Linked DNA regions of Homo sapiens: regions 1, 2, 4 and 5 are each linked to region 3. Evidence: promoter capture Hi-C in 16 types of primary human blood cells and fetal thymus (Javierre and others, 2016). All regions are on one chromosome and are shown on one strand. Each heading gives the region's core, a stretch centred on a gene start or on the middle of the fragment in contact. The rest is flanking DNA. Distances are from core to core; before and after follow the strand shown.

Region 1 (2,700 bases), core at 53-2,552, 240 kb before region 3:
CTGCGCCAGCTTGGTTTTGTTTTTGTTCCTCTGTTCTTCCTATTTGTTTTGTTCCTCTGTTCTGCCTTTTTTGGGGTTAATTGAATTTTTGGGTGTTCCATTATAAATTTTATTTTAGCGTTTTAGCTAAACTTCTTTGCATTAAATTTTTTAGTGTTTTCTCTAGGGATCACAGTATTAATTCTGAAATTGTGACTGTCTGTTTAGAGTTAGTCTTGTACCACTTCACGTAAAATGCCAGAACCTTGTGATAGTCTAGTCATACATACAACTCCTACCTTTATGTTATAGTCACATATTACATCTACATACATTGTAAATTCATAATAGTTTTTTTAGTTGTTATATGCATTTAAATAAATTTAGAAAAGAAAAACACGTACTTTTTAATATTTACCCACATATTTACCACATTCATTATGCTTCATTCTTTCTATAGCTTTCAATTTCAATCTGGTATAATTTTCTTTCATCCTAAAAAACTTTTGTTTTGCATTTCCTGTAGTACATATCTGCAGTACATATCACTTTTTAGAAAAGTGTAGTACATATCACTTTTTAGATAAGTGAAAGTACTTTTCACTTATCTAAAAATGTCTATATTTTGCCTTCATTATTGAAGGATAATTTTTCTGGATATAGAATATTGGGTTGTTCTTTGTTTTCTATCAGCACTTTAAAGAGACTATTCTGTTGGCTTTTCTTATCCATTGTTGGTCATTTATATTGTTGTTTGCCTGTTTATGATGTGTCATTTTTCTCTGGCTGTTGTCAAGATTTCCTCTTCATCTTTGGTTTTAGTACACTATGCTGTGTTCCACACTTCTGTGAGGTCTATGATGTGCCTTGTTGTGGTTTTCTTGGAGTTTGCTAAGATTCTTAGATCTGTAACATTATCTTTTCCACCATTTTGGAGAAATGTTTATTCGTAAGTTCTCCAAATATTTTTAATGCCCCCCCTTCCCTTTCCCCTTCCCTTCCCTTTCCCTTCCCTTCCCCTCCCCTCCCCTCCCCTCTCCTCCCTCTCTCTCTCTCTCTCCCGCACCCACCCCTTCCCTCTCCTTCCTTCTTCTCTCTCCTTTTCCCTCTTTCTCTCTCCTGCTTCTTCACACTCCCCCCACTCCCTGTTTCTGGGACTCAATTAAATATATGTTAGACCAATCAATACTGCACCACTGGTCACTGAGGCTGTGTTCAGATTCACTTTTTTCCCAGTCTTTTTCTCTCTGTTCTTCAGATTGGATCATTTCTATTGATCTCTCTTCAATTTGATTGATCCTTTCTTTTGATGTCTTCAATCTGCTGTTAAGCCCATTTAATAAATATTTTATTTTAGAAATTACAGTTTTCATCTTGATGATTTCCATGTGTTTCTTCTTTATATTGTATGTTTCTAATTTGAAATTCTTTATCTTTTTATATATTATGGCTACATTTTTGTTTTAAGTAGCTTCTTTAAAGTCTTTGTTGGCTATTTAAGCATTTTGGTCACTCAGGATTATTCTTTCTTAGGTGTTTTTTTTCTCATGACTATGGGTCATATTTTCCTATTTCTTTGCATGTTTTGTAAATTTTGATTATATGGTAGACATTGTAAATGATATTTCATAGGAACTCTGGAACCTATGCTGTCCCGAAGATTATTGATTTTGTTCTAGCAGGCTGTTTGTTACCTGTGAACTCTGTCTCTCCTGCAGTGAGCAGTAGAAAAATCTTAGTTCATTTCCCTCAGCCTCCCAGCTGTTATCTTCTGCCTGGTTCCTTGGAGTCTCCCCAGTATGTGCAGAATTCAGGGGAGGGGAGCCAAGAATTAGGATAGGGTTTACATGTGGATTTTGGTGCTCCTCTCTCTGAAGTTTTTTCCTTCCTAAGATATTCTCCCTCAGTTTCCATCTGCTCTGGCAGCCCTAAATTCCATTCTTGGATTCATCAAGCCCATAAGATTATGGCTTTGTATTTGAGCTCCAGCCACTCCACAACACACATACCTGAGAGCTTTTCCAGGTCAAAAGCCCTACACACATAAATCACTCCTACTGCAATTCCCTTTTTTTAAGTGTTGATTCCAAAAATAAAAAACTAAAAAATAATAAAAAAGAAAAGAAGAGTTGATTCCACTTTAATTTCTGCTTTCAATTGCTCATAACTGCCTTCAAATGATTGTTTTTCATCTTTTCTCCACAGTTTATACTTATCATCAGTGGAAAGTTTTACTGTGGTGTAGGCTACTCTACCACTTGGAAGTCTAACCTACCTTTAAATTTGAAGGATATTTTTCTGGAGTTTAGAATCTATGTTGGCACTTATTTTCTTTCATTGGAGTTTTCTATTTAAAATACTTAGCTCTGAGAGGGCATCACTGCTGATACTGACCTGAAAGTTGGTGGGTACAGAGACCCTGGAGAAGGTGATGCAGGGTAGATGGCAGAACCCTGCTATGGGAAGAAAGTGAGGGAAAGCACTGTTGGAAAGGGAGGTGTAAAGATTGAATAAAGGTGGGTGTTTTCCCTGTCTTCCCTAACGCTGACCTCAGGTAGATTAAATCACCTCTTCAAACTGATAAGGGAAAGGTGAACCAAGAGTCACTCTTTCTGGGTCTCTCTACAGCTCTCTGAGGTTAAATGAATTGATATTCAAAGATCTGAAAGGATTCTAATACCCAGAAGCCCCTCTAGTTTGTCAGTTCTCTTGTTTGGTGTG
Region 2 (2,700 bases), core at 157-2,656, 210 kb before region 3:
GCCAACCCCTCACCCCTGCTGAAGATGGTAGCAGTACCCTCTGCAGGGCAACGGTCCTTTAGCCCTTCCAGCCCTGCTCCAAGTATGCACCAGCCTAGAGCACTCCAAGTGAGTACCTGCCTCTCCCCACAGCAGCTCCTATGGGTCAGAGCTCTTTTGACTCTTTAGACATTACCCCCAGAGAAACCCAAAAATGAAGCTATACCCCCGTATTAGCACAGACAGCAGCAACAGGTATGGTGGTTGGGGGTCCTGCAGGCTCCTTTCCCTTGCCACTCTGTCCTGAGGTGGTCCCAGTCACAAGAAGGTGCTACAGTGCAGAGAGGCTAAACCTTGGCTTTCTAGCCGTAGAACCTTGAGGAGTGGAGATTACAGAAAGGAGACATCTGAGTTAGATATCCTTTAAATGTGTGTATGAAGTTCTGGGCTCATCCCTGAGCTGCACATGCATAAAACTGACTAGAATGAGCACAGCAAAACCTTTTGAGAATTTTAGAAGGACCAAGTCTCAGCATAATATTCAAAATCTGTAGGATATGAACCAAAATTATCCAACATACAAAGAACCAGGAAAGCCTAAAAAATTCTCGAGGAAAAAGGCAATCAACAAATGCCAACCCTGAGAGGATTCAAATGTTAGAATTATTAGACAAAGACTTTAAAGCAACTATTATGCCACATTCTAAGAAGTAAAAATGAGTACTCTTGGAATTAATGGAAAGATAGAAATTCTCTGTAAAAAAAAAATAGAAGCTATAAAGATAGAAATTTTAGAGTTGGAAAAGCTGGAGTGGCTATATATTCATATAACACAAAGAAGACTTCAGAAAAAGGACAATTATTAGTGATAAAATGGAACATTATATAATGATAATTTCAGTAATATTGGTGAATCAAGAATGCATAAGAGTACTAAATGTGTGTGTCCCTAACAACAGAGCTTCAAAATACATGAAGCAAAAACTTGGTAGTACTGAAAGGAAAAATAAATAAATCCATAGTAAGATGTAGAGACTTTAGCACTCCTCTGTCAGTAGTCAAGAAAAGTAGCAGGTAGAAAATCAGAAAGGATATTTCAATTAGGTCAAGTTGGTTGAACATCATCATCAACCAACTTGACCTAATTGATATTTATAGAACAGCCCACCAGCCACAGCAGAATACATGTTCTTTTCAAGTGCACATGGGACATTCATGAAGATAGACCATATTCTAGGTCACTAAACAGCCCTTATTAAATTCGAAAGAATTGAAATTATTCAAAGCTTGTTCTCTGCCCTTAATGAATTAAATAAGAGTTTGATAACATCTGAAAAATATCTGGAAAGAAATATGAAAAAGATCATCAAATATTTGAAATTAAACACTACACCACTATATAATCCATGGATCAAAGAGGATGTCTCAAGGGAAATTAGAACACTGGATTAAAATGAAAATACAACATATCAAAATTTGTGGAATGCAGATAAACTGGTACTTAGGGAAACTCAACATTAAATTATATTAGAAAGAAAAAATGTTTCAAAGCAGTAATTTAAGCTTCCACTTTAAGGAACTAGAAAAAGAAAAGCAAACTAAACTCAAAGCAAGAAGGAAAGAAATAATAAACATAAGAGCAAACATAAATGAAAATATAAAAATAATAGAAAAAAAATTGATGAAACCAAAAGATGGTTCTTCAAAATAGCCAATAAAGTTGATTTAAAAACTGAGGGGAAAAAAGACACAAATTACAAACATTATGGAGTGCCACTACTGACTCCATAGGCATTAAAATGATAATAAGGGAATACTATGAACAATTCTACGCACATAAATTTGACAAATGAGAAGAAAAGGGCCAATTCCTTGAAAGACACAAACTATCAAACTTAAAAAATAGCATGAATGGTCCTGTATCTGTTAAAGTGATCAAATCTGTAGGTAAAAACCTTCCAGAAAACTCCATTTTCACGTGGTTTGACTGGTGATTTCTACCAAGCATTTAAAGAAGAAATAACACCAATTATACAAAATCTCAGCAAAACTAAGGGGAAACACTTCCCAACCCGTTTTATGAGGCCAGCATGATTGTAATACTGGAATTAAAGACAATACAGAAAACTATAGACTCTCTGTATACTATACTAAATTCAGAGATACTATATTTTCTCATATTTTTTTCTAAAATTTTTATAGTTTTCATTTTACATTTAAGTCCATGACACCTTTTGAGTTCATTTTGTATATGATGTGAGACTTAGGTCAAGGTTCATACTTTTGCCTATGAATGTTCCTATGCTTCAGGACCATTTGGTTGTGATGTACAATTTAGTATACTATAGTATCTCTGAATTTAGATGCAAAATTTTTTTTTAAGACAGAGTCTTGCTCTTGTTGCCCAAGCTGGAGTGCAATGGCTCAATCTTGGCTCACTGCAACCTCCATCTGCCAGGTTCAAGCAATTCTCCTGCCTCAGCCTCCCAAGTAGCTAGGATTACAGGCACCCACCACCACACCTGACCAATTTTTTGTATTTTTAGTGAAGACAGGGTTTCACCATGTTGGTCAAGCTGGTCTCAAACTCCTGACCTCAGGTGATCCACCTGCCTCAGCCTCCCAAAGTGCTGGGATTACAGGCATGAGCCACTGTGCCTGCCCTAGATGCAAAATTCTTAACAAAATATTATCAAATTGTACATCACAACCAAATGGTCC
Region 3 (2,700 bases), core at 39-2,538:
TCCCCTGCACTAAGGAATTCACTGAAGTACTCGGTAACATCTTCCTAGATGGAAGAAAAACATTTCTTTTACACGTATTCTGAAGAAACATTTGGCTACCGACACTCCTCTTCTGAGTTATTTGGCAGGGAGGTCACTTTCCATGTTCTTCCCAACCCTAGAGAAAGGCCAGGAGTCAAAAGCAAATGCAGTTAGTTCTGAGGCGGGTCTTGGGGCTTGGGAACCGCAGACTGCAACCTCAGGCAAGGGCAACAGCCCACCCTTCTGAATCACCTAATAACACTTATCCAGGGGCAGCTACCATTACAGAGACAGGGATGATGTGACTGCCCCATGACTCCGAGGATAGTGATAGAGCCAAGATTGGAAATCTGACTCGAAATTCCGTGCTCTTAACCACCAAGCTTTTAAGAAAATGCCTAAGAAAGCAGTTTCAGCCGGTTAGAACAGTGTTACTGAAGAGGTCAAATAAATGGCCTATTCACACAGATCCATCAGCGCACTGCCAGCAAGCTTCTCGGTCACTAGAATGAGATTAAAAAACCAAGAAAAACTCCGATCCCTAGTGTTTTACATCCGGAATAGTTCAGCAGAGGGAGCGGTAGCGTCGGAGTCCAATCCAACCGGTCCGAGCTCCGGGGAACGCCGGCCACTGCCCGGCTGCCCGTCTCCCCTCCACTTCGCAGGCCCCCCAGACGCCGGCAGGGTCTGGCCGAGCCCAGCTGCTCCCTCCCTGCCCGGGGCCGCGGGTACGGCTGCCAGATTTAGCAAATAAAAACACAGAATACCCAGCTCCATTTGGATTTCAGACAGGCCACGAATAAGGTTTTAGTATGCCTACATCCCACGCAACATTTCGGACATGCTTATACTAAATGCTCTTTCTTTATCTACGATGCAAATGTAACTGGGCGTCCTTTCATTTTAGCCGCAACTCTATCGCCGGCCGAGGGGCCGGACGCCGACATGGTCACTGCCAGGCCGCAGCGACGTCAGGCCGCAAGCTGTCGGGATTAAATGGCCCCCGGCGCGAGCCCGGGCCGCGGGAGGGCAGAGTGGTCCTCAGGCCTCACCTGGAGTCCTGCTACAGCCTCGACCCACGTCCGAACCAGCCCACCACCTCCTCCCAGCAGCCGACCCCAGCCGCCACCGGGCGGGCTTCCCTTCCCTCAACGGAGCCGGCCCTTGGGGCGCGCCGCGTCACGGGAACCGACTTCCGCCGCGGACGCGCCACCTCTCGGCCCCCGTAGTCCTCGGCCCTACCGCCGCGGCCCGCCGGAAGTTGTTGCCGCTGGCTTCCGGTCCCCTGAGACTGGGGCCTCGCTCGCTCCCGACCCGGTTGCAAGTGTTGCGGTGGGAGAAAGTCGCGTCCGCATCGGAGGGGAAGCGCCGTCATGCCTAAGTATTATGAGGACAAGCCGCAGGGCGGCGCGTGCGCGGGCCTGAAGGAGGACCTGGGCGCGTGTCTGCTGCAGTCGGACTGTGTGGTCCAGGTAGCGCGGCCGGGCGCTCCCGGTGGTGACGACCCCTGTCCCAGGCAGGCCTGGCTCGGCGGAGGGCAGCGGGTCGCCCGCGGCGGCGGTTGGAGTTAACCATCCCGGGCGTAGGTCACAGCTCGGGCTCACTGAACGTGCGCAGATCCACTGAGCTGTCGGAGCCCCAGTTCCCTGTGGGGTTAAATCGGAGATAACGATAAACGCACCCTGTCGGGTTTTTGTAAAGGTTAACCCATTTCAGTTCACGAAGCCTTTATTGAATGCTAGCACTCTACTAGGCTTTGGAGACATAAAGGAGAATAAGCCAGGTTTCTTGCCTGCCTAGAAATGATAATCTGTAGAATTAATGATTCCAGAGAGTTGCGTAAACCTGGTACACTGCCCTGGCCAGTAGTGTCTCCTGCCTGTTCAGTTGTGACAATGTGTGCTCAGTTTGACTTGTGTTGATGTGAATTTGTTTCTGAGTTACAGTTCTCTGCATTCTTGGATGTTAAGTTGTAAAAATAAGGCAACTCCATATTTTCACGATTTCGTATCTTGCTTCCCCTACACTCTTCCTTCACTCCCCGGCTACAGACACAGGTCTCCTCAGCACCCTCTTGGAATGCACTGAAACATGTAGTGAGGTTCACAGTGGACCTGAGTTCTGGATTAGAGCTCAAGTAAAGCACAAGTGCCTTTTCCAATTGCAGAGGCCCGACGAGAGGGCATTCAATTGTGTGCAATTGTCTTTGCATTGGGGGATGTAGTTTCAGAAAGTTGCTGTTATTTCAGAGAAAAGATTACCCCCAAATGGACATCCACTGTAAGACTGTACCAGTGTTTCTACCGAGTCACAATTTGTTTGGTTCACTGATTTTAGCAGTCAGCCATTCTCGCCTCCCAATGTCTAGTAAAACTTGAGTTATTATAAATTTAAGAGATTATCTCGCCCAACTTCCTTATATAAATGAGGAAACTGAAGTACCGTTGTTTTCAGGCTCCCCTGTCCAGGGCTGTGTCCCTTCTGCCCCTTACTCACTGGTGCTGCCGTTCAGCCAGCTCCTGGTAAATGCCTCTTAAGTGGCAGGCATGGTACCTGACACTGGTGATAACGAAGATGAATCAGTAACAGTCACTACCCATGTAAGCTTGGTGTCATGGGAGAAATAGACATCTAAGGGTCTAAATTCCTGCCATAAGACTGTAAGCATTTATTAAACAT
Region 4 (2,700 bases), core at 94-2,593, 170 kb before region 3:
TGAGCCAAGATCACACCACCGTACTCCAGCCTGGGCAACAAAGTGAGACTCAAATAAGTAAATACATAAATAAAATGCTGAACAGGTTAATCCCTTGACCTTCTAAAATTGGGAAAGCTGGGTTCCAGGGGCTGAGCACAATGCACAGAAATAAACGATGTGAGTCATTGGTTCCAGGAACTCAATATTCTCAGCGAGGGGCCCTCCAGAGCAGCAAGTGCCAATGGAAGCATCTCTAAATTAATTGGATCTCTTTGTAAATCCAAAGGACAAATTAAATAAATGAATTGTCTGAGGCCAGTTGATTTGTAGTTCACATTTCCTCTGCAAAGGCTTGACTACAGATTTATTCATGCATTTCTGAAGCCACGTGATTTAGTGCTGAGGCCTTCTTGGGCCTTTGATAACTGCCATGATTATTAAGGCCTTGGAAGGTATAAAATGTGTTTTTCCACAATATTTACTTATGTCCTCTGTACAAAATGCATAAATATGTTACCAAGAATGTTACTAAAAACAGAAAAGAAAGGGCATGTTGTTTTTTTCTTTTCCCTCTGAGGCACTGCTTAAATATCATCTGCAAATTGTTAATTGCTCAGCTTGCGCTTTTATGACAGGGTTGGACCTGGGGAATGAAAAACAGCTCCCAGTGCTGATGCAGGGACACACCTGGCTGGCAACTCTGTTTTCAGAATGCCAAAGAGTGTAGGCTTCATTCCTTCATTCTGTAATAGGGTACAATGGGCATTGTCTAACCTTTATTTTAGCTACTTAGAGGGAAAAAAGCTACCATGACACTTGTGGTAGTTAATTTTATGTTTCAACTTGACTAGGTCACTGGTTGCCCAGATAGCTGGTTAAACATTATTTCTGTATTTGTCTGTGTGGGTGTTTCTGGAAGAGATTATCATTTGGATTAGTGGGCTCAGTAAAGCAGATTGCCATCAGCAATACAGGTAGGCATTGCCCAATCTATTGAAGACCCAAACAGAATAAAAATGGAGCAGGAAGGAGGATTTGCCATCTCTCTGTCTGATGCTTGCCATCTTCCCCCAGTGCTCCTGCTTTTCAGGCCTTCAGACTCAATCTACACCATTGACCCTCCAACTCTTAGGCCTCTGAATTAACCACCAGCTTTCCTGAGTCTCCAGCTTGCAGACAGCAGATTGTGGGACTTCTCAGCCTCCATACTCACGTGAACCAATACCGTATAATAAATCTCTTCATATGCAGTCATGCATTGTTTAACAATGAGGATACATTCTGAAACACGCATTGTTAGGCAATTAAGTCATTGTGTGGACATCATAGAACGCACTTAAACAAGCCTATAGGCTTTGTGGTGTAGCCTGTTGCTCCTGGGCTACAAACCTATACAGCACGATACTGTACTGAACACTCTAGGCAATGTAACACAATGGTAAGTATTTGTGTATCTAAACATAGAAAAGGCACAGTAAGGCTGGGCGCAGTGGCTCATGCCTGTAATCCCAGCACTTGAGGTTGGGAGTTTGAGACCAGCCTGGCCAAAATCAGGAAACCTCATCTTTTCTAAAAATACAAAAATTAGCTGGATGTGGTGGTGCACTCCTGTAGTCCCAGATACTCAGGAGGCTGAGGCAAAAGAATCGCTTGAACCCAGGAGCCAGGAGGCAGAGGTTGCAGTGAGCCGAGATCACCCCACTGCACTCCAGCCTGGGGAACAGAGAGAGAGACTCCATCTCAAAAAAAAAAAAAAAAGAGAGAGAAAAGGCACAATAAAAATACTGTTGCATATGTGGCCTGTCATTCACCAAAACATTGTTATACAGTACATAATTGTATATCTATATGCTACTGGTTCTGTTTCTCTGAGAATCTAGACTAATATACCACCTAATGGTGATCTCTAATGTTGCAAGGACAATAACTATCTTATCTGTCCTCACACATTTTATTGCAAAGTGACATTGTGTGTTGTCCAGACTGAGAATTTACCAGCTATAATTTCCCCCCACTTCAGAAACAGATTGGCAAATCATGATCAACAAAAACTATGCTCACTGAGAGAAGTCACCCACTGTTCAGACACAGGAGTGAGACTCTGGGGGCAGGAGGGCATCCAGGAGGAATATACAATGACTTTCCCTTTAAACACAGAAGCTGGAACAAGGCTCTGGGTTTAATCTGACTTGGAATTGCCTCTGTGGTTCTCAGCCAGCTCTGAGGAAGTTAAGAACCCACCCTTGCCTGTTCAAGGCTGGCTTCCAGCTCAGGAGGAAGGCTAGGGGGTGAGAATTAGGAATCCCCCACCAAAACACACACACATGCACGCACACACAAACACACATGTCCAAAGCTGACTGTTTTTCTCTGGGATTGTATTTCAAGGCCTCTGAAGTCATCAAAGTCTCTAAAACACAGGTGGTCATGGGGCTTTTCATGATAAACTTTTGGAATCTTCTCCCCTCATTAAAACCAAACCACAGTTCTGCAGGGCTTCTCCGAGAGCCAGCCTGATGGGACCCAAGTCCATGAAGGCTTCCTCCATTACCAGTGAGCAGCCTACAGGGACCCCAAGCGTGACCTGGGGTGGGGCCAGAGGGCAGGCCAGGCACTCTCGGCCTCCCGAGACCTTTCTCATGCCTAGCGTACTCCGCAGGCACCTTGATGCCTAGTGAGCGAGGAATCCAGCTTAGCAAAGAACAGGCACAGACATTT
Region 5 (2,750 bases), core at 156-2,655, 220 kb before region 3:
TTTTTCATTAATACAAAAATAATTCACACAACCTTTAGATCTCCTAGGAAAATTCCTATCTCTGCAATGCTCCAAATAGTTGACTGGCATTTGACAGCGTGTGGATGAACTGAAGTCAGGGACCACTGAAATGTAAATGCAGCAGAGGGAGTGTTGTTTGATGTTCTGTTCACTCACATCCCTCTTTCTCATTCTGAGCCCCCCAGGGGTCAGTAAGATGGAGGTGGGCAGAGTCTCACAGTGGCTCTTTTATCCTAGGGAGTCGAGGGGCACGCTGGGCAGCCGGGCCCTTTCTCACGACAGTATTTTCATTCCTGAGTCCGGACAGGACGCTACTCGGCCTGTGCGGGTGTTTTCCCAAGAAAATGTGTGTGATCGGATTAAAGCTCTGCAGGTAAATGTTTCCTTGGTCATGTCGCCTGGTGTGCAAGTCAAATATCCATCAAGAAGTTTTTAAATGATTTCTGCTTGGTTTATTTGATATGCTGTAAAGTAGAATCACATGTACATGACAGCTCCCCCAGGACACACCAAATGAGCTGCAGTGGGATCTCGACTCATTCTTAGATGAACAAAGAAGAGATGGCAGTGGAAGAGCTGGTGGCAGATGCACGTTCAGTTCAGTTCTCTGCACCACACCAAGATACTGAAGGCATTTCCAGCATGAATGAATTAGAGCAGGAGGATTTGTTGATAAATATCATTGATGAAAATAAGAGCACATGTTCTTTATTCCAATCTAGTTAAAAATACAGTGTAATGTGAAAATGGGGCCACCACCTCCTCCAGGGGGGCTTCCTGCCAAGCGGGGAGAGGATGCCGGCATGAGCTCTGAGGACGACGGGCTGCCCAGGAGCCCCCCAGAGATGTCTCTGCTGCACGACGTGGGTCCTGGTACCACCATAAAGGCAAGTGCGGCCTGTACCACTGCATGTCTTCATCCACACCTGCCCTGGAGGGTGCTGGAGCTCTGAGATCCCCTGTGTGTGCCCCTAAGATCTCCAGGCTGTGCATGGTGTGGCCAACTGGGTCACTGGAGCCTACAATCAGCCCTTGAGCTGTGTTTATTTTCATTCTTTGAGTAGAAATTCAGGTCTGGTTAGGAGACGTGGTTTTGGTGACTTTTTTTAATGAGGGTGATAGGTTGATAGAATCAACCCAGAATCAACCCTGTCCCTTGACTTTCCTGTCTGAGCAGATGACCAGACCCAGAACCCCATTAGAAGTAGGGAAACACGTTGTATCTGTTTTCCGTTGCCATGACATTTGGCCGGTGGGAGGGGGAAGTAGTGAGCATGTGATAGTTGAGGCTCTGATGGTCTCCGGTGCCTGAGTTTGTGACCTTGAGGTGGTGTTGGCCTAGGGGTAGTAATGTGCTGTATTGCTGGCAAACAGGGCAGCAGGGAAAGGTTGACAAGCAAGAGAGGAACTGATGACCTCAGCAGGGTGGAGGAACCAGTCCCAAACACCACCTTCTCCATTAGAATCCAAGAGGGGGGCCCCGAGGAACTCGGAAAAGAGCACGAGCTCTTTCTCGTGCATAAACAACATAGCTCGCGATGCTGCCACATTTTAAATTCTTTATGTTATTGTGGTAAGAACACTTAATGCCCATACACTGTACTTGCACATAAATGTTAAAAATAGGTGGTCATCCTTCCCATGTAGACAAGCCTGACTGTGGAGGATGGATAGAGTTGGAGTTATCTGTTATGCTGACATTTGAAAAACAAATAAAGGCCAGAGTTTATTTTTTATAGCCACACACCTTCCCCTGTCACCTCTGGCCTGCTCGAGGGGCCATTCACAGTGAAGGGGGAGCTTCGTTGCGACTCACTGCCTTGCAGATTCTGTGCTTCTCTGAATTGTGTTCAGAAGCCACTTCAGTGTGGACACCTATACACCCTGCCACACCAAATTTTTGTGTGTAGTTGTGAGTTCCCCGAACGTCACTGATGAAAAAGGCAAAAGGACTGTGGTGTGGCTGAGTGTGTGGGGTGGGGACTGACATGAAGCCGGCTAGAGAATTATTCTCTCCAGAATTCTGCTCTGGGGCGAAGCTGTCCCTGCTCATTCCAGGAGCAGGGTCTGAGGACAGTGGGCTACCCAGGCCTGCTCTCCAGCCTCGAGCAGAAGGGAGAAAGGATGAGGAGGATGGGGTGGCCTATTTCATAGACTTCACCGAGCCAACCCTGTACCCCTTTTAACACCTCCAAATACTCCTGTGTGCAGTTTCAGCGTCCCCCTCTCAGGAGCAGATGTGACTTAGTGTATTTCTGAGCTATGCAGTAGGAAGAGGTCTGTCATGAGCTGCCTCTTTCCTCATCATAGATGGACTCCCCCTCCTCCCATCCCACAGGTCTCTGACTCTCACAGCATCCCAGTTCTCTGCCTTTAGCCAGGACGGGCAGTAAGAGGAGAGGTAGTTTCTAACCCATCCATTGAAGAGCAAGCCTATCTCCAAACCCATGTGACACTATGAGGCACAAATTCCACAGCTGGCTCGGCTGGGCCAGCCTGACTTTATCTCTCACAGCACAACCACCTCCTGTGGTTGGTCCTTTATTTAAAAAAAAAAAGTTCTGAGATTTTATCAATTATTGGGTAATATGGACAATCTACCAGCTTCATAGGAAACCAAAATTTGGGCTTTTAAGACTTAAAAACAGAAAGGTAATCTTTAGTGTCTTCATCGTTTTGAAGACACAATGATTGCATTTTGAGGCCTGAAAGTTTTTATGCATAATTGG

Evidence for each region. The method cuts DNA at HindIII sites, captures the fragments that hold promoters and counts their contacts. A CHiCAGO score of 5 or more calls a contact.
Region 1: a contact is called between a fragment that was not itself captured here and the fragment with the promoter of COA5 in region 3, in 2 of 17 cell types (non-activated CD4 T cells and naive CD4 T cells). The highest score is 5.9, in non-activated CD4 T cells.
Region 2: a fragment that was not itself captured here is called in contact with the fragment with the promoter of COA5 in region 3 in 5 of 17 cell types (non-activated CD4 T cells, total CD8 T cells, naive CD4 T cells and 2 more); the score reaches 9.0 in non-activated CD4 T cells.
Region 4: a contact is called between a fragment that was not itself captured here and the fragment with the promoter of COA5 in region 3, in 2 of 17 cell types (non-activated CD4 T cells and naive CD4 T cells). The highest score is 7.0, in non-activated CD4 T cells.
Region 5: a fragment that was not itself captured here is called in contact with the fragment with the promoter of COA5 in region 3 in 13 of 17 cell types (non-activated CD4 T cells, naive CD4 T cells, activated CD4 T cells and 10 more); the score reaches 18.1 in non-activated CD4 T cells.

What each region holds. Positions count from the first base shown.
Region 1 is chr2:98,851,314-98,854,013 of GRCh38, reverse strand. All of the region lies in intron 1 of CRACDL (CRACD like), which reads left to right. Among named protein-coding and RNA genes, the nearest start is that of LINC02611, 81 kb to the right of the region's middle. The HindIII fragment of the contact is 3,322 bases long and covers 1-2,700 here.
Region 2 is chr2:98,813,092-98,815,791 of GRCh38, reverse strand. All of the region lies in intron 7 of CRACDL (CRACD like), which reads left to right. Among named protein-coding and RNA genes, the nearest start is that of LINC02611, 43 kb to the right of the region's middle. The HindIII fragment of the contact is 277 bases long and covers 1,268-1,544 here.
Region 3 is chr2:98,607,100-98,609,799 of GRCh38, reverse strand. COA5 (cytochrome c oxidase assembly factor 5) reads left to right here and starts at 1,288. Exons shown (of 3, transcript NM_001008215.3): 1 at 1,288-1,493. The coding sequence starts at 1,395. It overlaps UNC50 (unc-50 inner nuclear membrane RNA binding protein), which reads right to left and starts at 1,211. Exons shown (of 6, transcript NM_014044.7): 1 at 1,074-1,211; 2 at 1-44. The coding sequence starts at 40. RefSeq lists a silencer at 984-1,083 and an enhancer at 1,147-2,136. The HindIII fragment of the contact is 2,113 bases long and covers 516-2,628 here.
Region 4 is chr2:98,775,848-98,778,547 of GRCh38, reverse strand. No RefSeq gene overlaps it. Among named protein-coding and RNA genes, the nearest start is that of LINC02611, 5.3 kb to the right of the region's middle. The HindIII fragment of the contact is 3,905 bases long and covers 1-2,700 here.
Region 5 is chr2:98,830,506-98,833,255 of GRCh38, reverse strand. It overlaps CRACDL (CRACD like), which reads left to right. Exons shown (of 10, transcript NM_207362.3): 4 at 259-394; 5 at 744-908. Among named protein-coding and RNA genes, the nearest start is that of LINC02611, 60 kb to the right of the region's middle. The HindIII fragment of the contact is 4,284 bases long and covers 1-2,750 here.